2 separate regions of the Homo sapiens genome follow, and region 2 is linked to region 1. Evidence: promoter capture Hi-C in human tissues and cell types (Jung and others, 2019). All regions are on one chromosome and are shown on one strand. Each heading gives the region's core, a stretch centred on a gene start or on the middle of the fragment in contact. The rest is flanking DNA. Distances are from core to core; before and after follow the strand shown.

Region 1 (5,378 bases), core at 1,238-3,737:
GGGAGCCCGAGGCAGGAGGATGGCTTGAGCCCAGAAGACCAGCCTGGGTAACACAGTAAGACATCATCTCTACAAAAAATAAAAAATTAGCCAGGTGTGGTGGTGTGCACCTATAGTCCTAGCTACTCAGGAGACAGGTGGGAGGATCTCTTGTGCTCAGGTTCAAGGCTGTGGTAAGCCATGACTGCATCACAGCACGCCAAGCCTGGGTGACAAAGGACCCTGTTTCTAAAAAAAAGACTGAGAAAATTTTATCAAATGTAAACATTTAAATGGGATCTTTATGATATGATGCTGAGCACCTTTTAAGTGTATTTTGTTAGGGGTGAGCAAGACGGGCTTGTGAGAATGGCACATCCAGGAAGGATAAAGAAGACAACAGCTGTGAAGTCTGGAATGGCTACATGGAGTAGCAGGCTAATTACCAAGTATTAAAAGGTCCTATAACACCAGAGATTGTAAACAGGCAGCCTGTCTGAGTATTGCTGGCCACACAGGTTTCAAAAACCACAGATAGGCCAACACTGTAGTAGATTTTCCTTTCTTCAGGGCAATTAATGGTTACTGCAGAGCTGCGATGACCTCTTCGGTCTTTGGGAAGAGTCTGTACTCTCTGGCCCTGTAGTAGGCTGAATAATGGCCCCCAAAGATAACCACATCCTAATCCCTGGAACCTGTGACTATTACTTTATTTGGCAAAAGGGACTTTGCAGATGTAATTAAGGATTTTGAAATGGGAGATTTTCTGGGTTATCTGGTGGGCCCTGAATGTATGACAAGTGTCTTTATAAAAGCGAAGCAGAGGGAACTCTGACTACAGAAAGGGAGGCAATGTGATGACCCGAAGCAGAGATTGAAGTGACGTGAACACAAGCCAAGGAACATTGGCAGCCACCAGAAAATGGAAGAGGCAAGAACCAGATTCTCCCCTGGAGCCCTCAGAAGGAGTGAGCCCTGCCTTGATTTGAGCACTGTAAGATTTCATTGTGAACTTCTGGCCTCCAGAACTGTAAACAAATAAATCTGTTAAATCACTACATTTGTGGTAACTACAACAGCAATATGAAAACTAACCCACCCTGTATATGTTTGAGCTTATAATTTAACTCAACTCTCTCAACAGTTGAGGAGGATATAGAGCCCTGACCTGCCCAAGTCACCTCCAGTTCTTGGAAGAACCAAGTCCCCAGACTGCAACTTGCTACACGCTACCTACGCTTTTCCCATGCAAAAGGAGGTCAGAGGTCTTCCAGTTGTGTTTGGTTCTAGAAGCAAACAAAAAAGAGTGACTTATGGGAGTGGTAGAACATTCTTGAGCCGTGGCCTTTTTGGGAGAGTTAGGCCCCTTGAAAAGTCGATGGAAGCTATATTCTCCTTGCAGGAAACAAAAGGCACACACACTTGCACCCATTTTTGGGAGTTCATGACCCTCAGGTAAAGAACCCCTCCTCGGCAGATAAAAAGCATTTAAGGAAAAACAGACGCAAAATAAAATCTTCGGGTAGACAAGTCAGTCCTGCCTACAGTTATAGATAAGATGGAGAAACAAAACTGAGGACAGGAATTCCATGGAAGAAGGTCACAGGGTCCAGATACGAGAAAAAAACCTCAACGAACCGGGAAACTAAAACTATAGCTTTGAAGAAAAAAACAAAGCATTAAAGCAGAGTTTGGGGTTGAAAGAATGCTCTCCAACAACCAGGAAATCGGGATTTTCACCTTTATTTTTACTCAGGAGATCATTGTTACTCGAACCCAATATTGAAGAGCCAATCTGAAAAGATGGCAATTTACTCCTGAGCTCTGGAAGTTGCTGGAACCTGATCTCGAAGCAGTGACGATCTGTGAACGCCCCAGCTGCACCAACCAAGGTGCTAAACCTTCAGACAGGTCTATTTCTACTCGGATTTTTTCTTTGGGATCAGACTGGTATTTTAAAGCCCTTCCAAACAAACAAACAAAAAACCAGAAGCTTAAAGCAAACCTAACATGTGACTTTGGACACCACTTCATCCAGACTACTTCCCTCAGACACTGACAACCGGCCAGAGGTGGAATCGCGGGAAACCTTAAACCCAGGGAAGAAGTGACTTTAAAGGAAACAAAGCGTTCGCCCCCGCCGCTTGGGAGAAGGGGCTGGGATAGAGACAAAGCCCGAGGAAAACACCGAACTAAAGTTGGGTTAGGAGCGGGGGAGGCATGGGCAGGACCCGAGAGAGGCAACTGGAACCCAGAGTGCGCGAGCGCGGAGGAGGTGAAGGCCCTGTGGACGCAGCGCCGGGAGAGCCTCAGCGGGCCGGGATAAGAGGGGCGCCCCTCACCTCGACTGGGTAGAGCTCGCGCGGCAGCACCGCCTGCAGGTCCATGAACAGGGTGATGGGGATGTGGCTGAGGAAGTAGAGGCCCAGCAGCCACTCCACGCAGCGCCTGGTTGCCGGAGCCCCCATAGTCTGTCGGTTGGGCCTGGACCCGCTGATGTGAGAAGAGGGGCCAAATCCGCGCGCCTTCCCAGACCCACGCGCCTCGGTCGCCGCCTTGCCCCCGCGAGGGCTAGGCAGACCGCTTCCATTGGCTGGCGAGAAGAGGAGGCTCGTGGACAGGGGGCGGCACTCCCCACAGGGCGCACCCATTGGTCCGTATAAGTATAGCGCGTGGAGAAGGCGTCTCGTAAGCCATTTCCATTGGCCGCCAGGAGCGCCGTGTGGGCGGGGCTTAGTCACGCCGTTCGGCGCGCGGCTACTCAGTGTAGATTGCGGTTGTGAGCGCGAGCCTAGCGTTTCGGTGCTGGCCGCGTGGTATCCTGGTGTCCCGGCAGCTGCCGGCGGCGCTCCCTTCCCTCGTGGCTCCGTTCGCCACTACAACAGCAGTATGAAAACTGCACTGGCCCTTGGGCCTTCTGCAGTAAGTCAGCATTAAAAAAATAAAGCTGACGCTGTGCACGGTGGGTCATGCCTGTAATGTCTGCACTTTGGGAGCCCGAGGCAGGAGGATGGCTTGAGCCCAGAAGACCAGCCTGGGTAACTTAGTAAGACATTATCTCTACAAAAAATAAAAAATTAGCCAGGTGTGGTGGTGTGCACCTGTAGTCCTAGCTAGTTCGTGTACTAGTGACCAGCGCCTGTGCTGGGCCGCGGTACCCCGGTGCAGTGCGGCCGTCACGGAGCAGGGGTCGCAGAGCGGGGCACGAGCGCCGCGGTGCAGGTTCCCGGCCCAGCCGGGGTTGCGGGTCTGGGGAGGCAGCTGGCCGCGGTGAACAAAGAAGCAGAGGGGAGGACTCGAGGGACGTAGGAGGCAGTAAAATGGACAGGAATCCTCACCGGCTGTGGAGCATGAGGGAAGGTCAAGGATTCGTTTACACGTTCAGCAAATACTGATGTTCATCTCCACGCTGGGCGCAGGCCTGTCTCGGGGCAGGATCGCCGAGGCTGCCATTTGCTAAGAGGGGACACAGGGCAAGGGAGTGCGAGGAAGGAATGCAGCTTGGACTACGTGGACCTTGAGTGGGCTGCAGCGTTGGGTGGAGGAGGCAGTTGGGTGAGCCTGTCTGGAGTCGTAAGCTTGTGAGGCATCCGCCTTTGATGGCGAGCAGAGGGCCTGGGAGAGATCCTGGGGGAGCTCCAGCCTCAGGTCATGGGAGGAGGGGACTGAGATAGGAGCGTACTAGCAGGGGGCTATGTCACAGGGAGGGGCAGCCTGTCAACACTGAGTGATGCCCGCCTGTGGCCCTGTGGGGAACAGTTGTGTCGTGGGGGCAGGAGCCAGGGAGTAAGAAAGTGGGGAAATGGAGGCAGGAAGTGTAGACAGCTGGTCACGAAGGGGAGAAGACATGGGGCAGTAGCTGGAGAGAGATGCACTCGAGAGTTTATTTTGCAGGTGAGAAAGACTTGAGCTAGTTTAGTTTTGACAGTGGGAGAGGTTACCCCTACTCGAGAAGAGCAGGAAATGCGGCTCAAAGCCCTGGAGGAGGCGGAGGGAATGGAAGGATTGGGGTGGGTTAGGTGGGTGCACTGCGCTCCGCCCAGCTTCCCCTTCCCTTGGGGCGCTGTGGGCTAGGACAGAGGGATTATGGCAGTGTTGAAGGCCCAGCTGAGGTGGGGGGCCGCTGACCCGGAGGCCCCAATCTCTTAGGCTGTGTGCTTTGCATTTCTCTAGTGCGGGGTCTACCCAGAAGAAGGCTGTTGGACCCCTACAGAGTTTGGGTTCAGAAAAGCGAAAGGTGGCTTTGAAGAGCTGAAGAAGAGTGATTGAGGTGCAGAAGGTTGCAGTTCAAGCTAGGTAGGGGGAGAGGGAGAGGTGAGGCCAAAGGGGGCTGTAAGACAGGGAGACAGTGGAGGCCTGCTGAGGAACACGTGCCAGCGTGATGGGAGTCACTGGGCCGGAAGGGTGGGAGCTTATGAGGAGGGCGTGCAATACCTGAATTCCTGGGGTCAGGAAGAGGTTCTGCCCGTGGGAGTGTGCGGCTGAAATGGAGTGGAGGGGAAGGTCTTTGGAGATGAGGTCAAGGGAAGGCCACCCAGGGTGGTGGTGGCGAAAATGCCACTGCACACGGGGGAGTAACCAGAAGGAAGGTGAGCATGGGATGAGAGTGGAGGGGAAACTGTGTGGACATGGCCTTGCGGAGGGAGGAGGCCGCTTATCCTGACCTTGAAGGGTGCGAGAAGGTGAATAGCCTGCGCTGGAGAGGGCTGTGGGGAAGCTGAGTCCTCAGCCAAGTGCCAGTTACTGGGGGAGGTAACAGTGGAGGGGTTTGGCTGGAGAGGAGGAGGAGCAGGTTGGAAGGAGACAGTAGGAGAAATGTGGAGGTCTTTGGGTGGGGAGCAGGGGATGAACAGCATGGGTGGCTGAGCATCGTGAGGGCACACAGTTCTGGCGTCCCCCAAGTCTCAGGTCAGCCTTGCCCAGGACCACAGAGCCGGCAGCCACAGGGAGGCAGGGGTGTTCAGGGCTGTTTGTCCTGCTCCGAGGGGGGAGCCGGGCTCCATGGAGAGAACACTCTACCAGGGGCTCAGGAGGGAGGACTCAGAATTAGCTGCTGCTTTTTTTCCAGGAAAAAAAAAAAAAGTCAATGCCTGGGAAACCTTAGGTCACCTGAGGAGAGAGCCCATTTTGTTCACACCATAAATCTTTAAAGGCAGTTTGCTCTTTCTCAGACTCCACTCTGTTCCCAGACTAACTACTCCTGTTAGTCACTTAGTAGCCATCTTGGTTATCAAATTGACCATTGAGTTATCACGGTGCTTGTGTTCAAGTAAGCCTTATGTTATTTAATAGTGGGCCAGGTGTGGTGGCTCATACCTGTAATCACTTTGGGAGGCCGAGGCAGGAGGACCCCTTGAGGCCAGGAGTTTAAGACCAGCCTGGGCAACATAGCAAGACCC
Region 2 (4,898 bases), core at 1,927-4,426, 170 kb after region 1:
TTCTTCTAAAGAGATAAATCTCTAAATTAGAATTACTAATTTCCAATAACTAAAGAGATTTCAACAAGTGAGAAACCATCAACAAAAAAGCTTTCTTCAGCACCTACAAATTTCTGAATTAGATGTGCAAACTAATTGGCAATTTATCTATACTGTATGAAAAACACATACACTCATATTTGGTTTCCTAAAATGGTTCATCCTTAACAAATTTCTTTAAGCCAGATACAGTGGCTCACACCTATAAACCCGGCACTTTGGGAGGCCGAGGCAGGAAGATTGCTTACGGCCAGAAGTTCAAGACCAGCCTGGGCAACATAAAGAGATCCCGTCTCTACAAAAAAATTTAAAAATTAGCTGGGTGTGGTGGTGCGCACCTGTATTCCCAGCTACTTGTGCCTAAAGTGAAAGGATTTTAAGTTTAAGCCCAGGAGTTCGAGGCTGCAGTGAGCTCTGATTGCCACTGCACTCCAGCGTTGGCGACAGAGCAAGACCCTGTCTCAAAAAAACGTTTTTTAACAACAACATGAAAAGTAATAAAAATAAAATGGACATTTATTGAGTGCTCACTATGTGCCAGACACTTCTTTAAGTACTTCATATGAACTATTTCATGAATCCCCACAACACAAGTAGCAGGTTATGCTAAATAACTAATTTTTCTCTTTTTGAGGTTTAGTCTTTCCTTTCAGAAGAAATTGAATCCAAAGACACCTGAAGTAACTGCTCAATCCACCCAAGTACTTTTATTCATTTCTTCCAGCACCTGAATTTTAGTCTTAGTTCTGTTACTGGCAGAACACAACCAAAATAAGAAATAATCCCACATTTGCAGAGGATTTATCTGTTTGCTGAAAAGTATTTTTGAGCTTACCATGTGCCACTTTTAACATAGGTCACCTCATTTAATCCTCATAACAACTTGTGGCTATTTCCACGTAACAAGTCTAAACTGCTAGTGAAGAAATGTCTGACAAATAATGATACCCTTTTGGCCAATGACTGAAAAATAAAAAGGTTAAAAAAATCAAGAGGCAAATTTTGCTACCTCATTCTCTTTGTCTCAGTGTCTCTTTCTAACCTCCTGAGTATTCACTTCCTTCAAGTATTTTACCTCTTACCCTTCTTTAGTCAAATTATAAAAATAATCTTGACGATACAAGAAACATTTTCCCTGCACTTATGAATCATATATGCTTAAATAGATTCATATCCCCTCATATTTTTTAAGTGCATGAGAACTAAAAAGTTAGTGCATACGTATGTATAAATGTGTATAAATGTTTATGTGCATGTGTATATAAAAAAAGGAACTCCTGGCTACTTTTTGTGGGGGGGTGGGGGCAGGGTACAGGGCTTGGACTAGTAGCCCTTTACAGATTTCTTTTTAAAGTCTAAATGAGAGATTGCTGGAAATACAGGACAGGCCTTTGATGGGAGATCAAAGTTAAAAATATAAGTTTGGGAATCATTAGATACAGTAAAAATTAACAATTTCTACTTTCTACTAAATGAAATATGCCACACTGAGGTATTTATTTGCATTTGGTTACAATCTGCTTTTCATTTGCATAAAAGTTTATCTTTAAAATTTATTTTTCCATTTCTTTCCTTCTTTTATTAAAAAACCTGGATATTAAAATTATGGAAGCTTCTCACCATTAATGGGTTTTAAATTCAACCTTAACAACATGACATTCTTTAGAATAATGCAACCAGTGTCAGCAGCTGAATTGTTAGTGGACAGTGCCCAAATATAACAAGCAGCACATCCTGCTAGATTCCCACAAAATTTGCTGAGGAAGAAAACGTTATCATGGAGGACAGAATTTGAGGCAAGAAAAAGCAAGAAATGAGACATCTTCTGAAGATCAAGGACATTAGGTGGGAACATATTAGAGATATCAAAAAGGGAGAGAACAGAGAGGGTTGCTTAGAATTAAAAATAGGCCTGTACAATTTTCTCTGACGCAAAAAAGATTATGGGCAAGAAGACCAGGTAACTAATCTAGAGCCTGGCAGCCATCTACACCTCAATGATAAGCCTCTCCTGACCTCTTGCTCCAATTAAAGCAGATCTGTACCATGATCAATATTTGTTTAACCCACCTATACGATGCTGCATCTATTTTAGGAAGTAATTTAAGAATGCATAATAATCAGCCTCACACCAGAAATACTGACTACCCCAACTGTCAAAGGTAATTCCTCAGAAAAAGCTACACAGTCACCACAGAAACAAATGCTGACATCAAATTCTGACCTTCAATTATAAATAAGATGATTGAGTACTTTTCTGTTTTTAGGAAGTCATGATTACTCAGGGAGTCTCAGAGCCTTCAGGACTGGTGCCAACAGCATCTTTGTTTAACCATCATCATTAGCATCAATAAACACTGACTGGGTACTAAGTGGGTGTAGAGAACATGTTAACTCAATGACAAGACTGAGAAAAAAGATGGATGAATGCAAGGCAACAGCCAAGAGGTTGGAAAAAGACTGACATTGACATGTAAAAATCAAGGAGAGAGGGCAAGAAGGTGCAAAAAGATTTTAATGTAAATGAACAAAGAAGCCTGACTGAAAACAGCTGAAATTTACTGCAATTTTCTATGTGTTAGGCATCCAGCTTTAAATTTATTTTGCCTCACCTACTCCTAATTACTGTAAGAAGTAAGTCCCATTATGGGTTCCCATTATACAGAGCAAAGAGGTTTAGAGAGGTAAAGAAATTAGTCAAAGGTCTTAGTGTGCAGCGGACGTGGCACTAGATCACAGCCCTCGTTCTTGTACTCTGTCCTTCAAAAGATAAAGTAAACTTCAAAAATAGAAAACTAAAAAAAGAGGTAAGAACAAAACAATTCTACTTCAGGAGGGAGAAGGCCTGGAAATTGATTTTTAAAATAAGGAGTTAACAGGTTCAGCAGTGGGAGGCGGTGTGTTTGTTGTAGGCTTTGGAATCAAAATGACCAAGGTTAGAATCTTGACTCTGCCACTTAGTAGCTTGATAACATTAGGCAAGTTAAATAACTTCTCTGAGTCTGTTCCTGCATTTATAAAACAGGTACAGGAACACCTACTACACAGAGTTACTGCTAGGATTTAGAATCACATATAAATGCCTGGCACACAGAAAACGATTTAGGTGGTAGCTGCTATCATCATCATCATCATCGTCATCATCATCATCATCATCATCAACATCGTTATATGAGGGAGGAGGGGAAATGAGTTTTTTTTAAAACATCAATACATGCTAGGTGGTATGCCAAATGTTCAACGTACATTAATTCATTTATTCCTTTAAAATAACTGTGAGTAAGAATATCATCTCCATTATCATTGAGGAAACTGAGGCTTAGGGAAGAGTATCAAGTAACTTTTTGAAGGTCAAAAAGCTAGTAAGTGGAGGAAAAAAAATCAGGATTTGAACTCAGAGCTGCCTGATATCAAAGTCCATGGCCTTTTTCAAAATGTATGAATGTGCCCCTATTTCTTTCCAACATTCTCCCCAGGGAAAAAAGCAAAAGAATATAAGGAACAAAGAAACTGGCAACCACTCAAAAAAGCTCCTTTTGGCTGGGTGCGGTGGCTCATGCCTGTAATCCCAGCACTTTGGGAGGCTGAGGTGGGTGGATCACCTGAGATCGGGAGTCAAGACCAGCCTGGCCAACACAGTGAAACACTGTCTCTACTAAAAAATATAAAAATTAGCCAGGTGTGGTTGCGGGCACCTGTAATCCCAGTTACTCAGGAGGCTGAGGCAGGAGAATCCCTTGAACCCTGGAGGTGGAGGCTGCAGTGAGCTGAGATCATGCCACTGCACTCCAGCCTGGGTGACAGAGTGAGACTGTCTTTAAAAAAAAAAAATGCTCCTTTAAGCCACTGTGATCTCAAAAGGAAAGACTAGGCCATCTCAAAAGGATATCATCAATGAAGAAGGAGAAAAACTTTATTCACTTTTTATTAATGTGGTCTCATGCAGGGTTTTTGGCATCAAAGAAACATGTCCGTGACAGTCACATTCCTTTAGAGTTTACTCATTCACTCAAAGGACAAAAAGCCCTTGACTTACACCAAGAAAGGTTTTCTACAGGACATATTTTTGACAGATGGGAACTTGAGGGAACAATTAAAAGTACTAGTTTCTGTGAGACCTCTGAGAACCTCTACAGAAGGTAACTCCTGGTTTTGGTAAAGGGTTAATAACCTGAAGCGTTTCTTAGTCTTGAGCTCAGAGTGATAAATATTACCTATCAGATTAGTATTCTTCATATTTAACCCTAATTACAGAAAAGGATTAATATTCTATAACTGATTAATAGTCCCCATATCCCCCCAAAACAAAAGCACACATTAAAAACCCCAAAACTTTGCTTACTCATGCAAATCATATTTTCTTTGGTAAAAAAAATGCCACTTCAACCTGATCCTATTTTCTACCATCTGGTTCTCTTGCCACCTCTAAGTGATGTAAACTATCAATTAAACGTGTAATTTTTAAACCCACTGCCAAAGATACAATTCAATATTTTTGATTAATACTTAATAATGACAGGCATAGAATATGCAGAGAGCAAAATAATACAAGCAGCACATAAATAAACTGTACTCTGGCTAAAATCCAGATTTGTGCTAGTGTGCTACAGGTCTATTAAGTTTCCTGAGGTACTGCTCTCAAATAAATTGGGTTGATAGCAGGAGACTCAGCTGGTCTATGAAGTGCCTAAAAGCCCCACTGATTCACCATATCCTCCAATTATGGCAAGTCTGATATATTTAGTGGCTTCTGAAACCTCTAGGTCTCCACCTAACACATGCCTCCTGGTGTCTAGCAATCTTAAAAAATAAAGTCAACACAGTGGGACATGACAAAAAAGATCAAATAAATACAGTCC

The links. Contacts are between HindIII fragments. The study calls those that stand out against the background at their distance.
Region 2: a fragment that was not itself captured here is called in contact with the fragment with the promoter of TMEM97 in region 1 in 1 of the 25 tissues and cell types used here (IMR-90 fibroblasts).

Annotation. Positions count from the first base shown.
Region 1 is chr17:28,316,309-28,321,686 of GRCh38, reverse strand. It overlaps TMEM97 (transmembrane protein 97), which reads right to left and starts at 2,487. Exons shown (of 3, transcript NM_014573.3): 1 at 2,322-2,487. The coding sequence starts at 2,447. RefSeq lists enhancers at 2,364-2,423, 2,904-3,163, 3,383-4,208. The HindIII fragment of the contact is 5,118 bases long and covers 1-2,765 here.
Region 2 is chr17:28,144,685-28,149,582 of GRCh38, reverse strand. The region is part of intron 3 of NLK (nemo like kinase); the gene reads right to left. LOC105371711 (a long non-coding RNA gene) reads right to left here. Exons shown (of 2, transcript XR_007065686.1): 2 at 1-4,898. Among named protein-coding and RNA genes, the nearest start is that of NLK, 100 kb to the right of the region's middle. The HindIII fragment of the contact is 4,609 bases long and covers 872-4,898 here.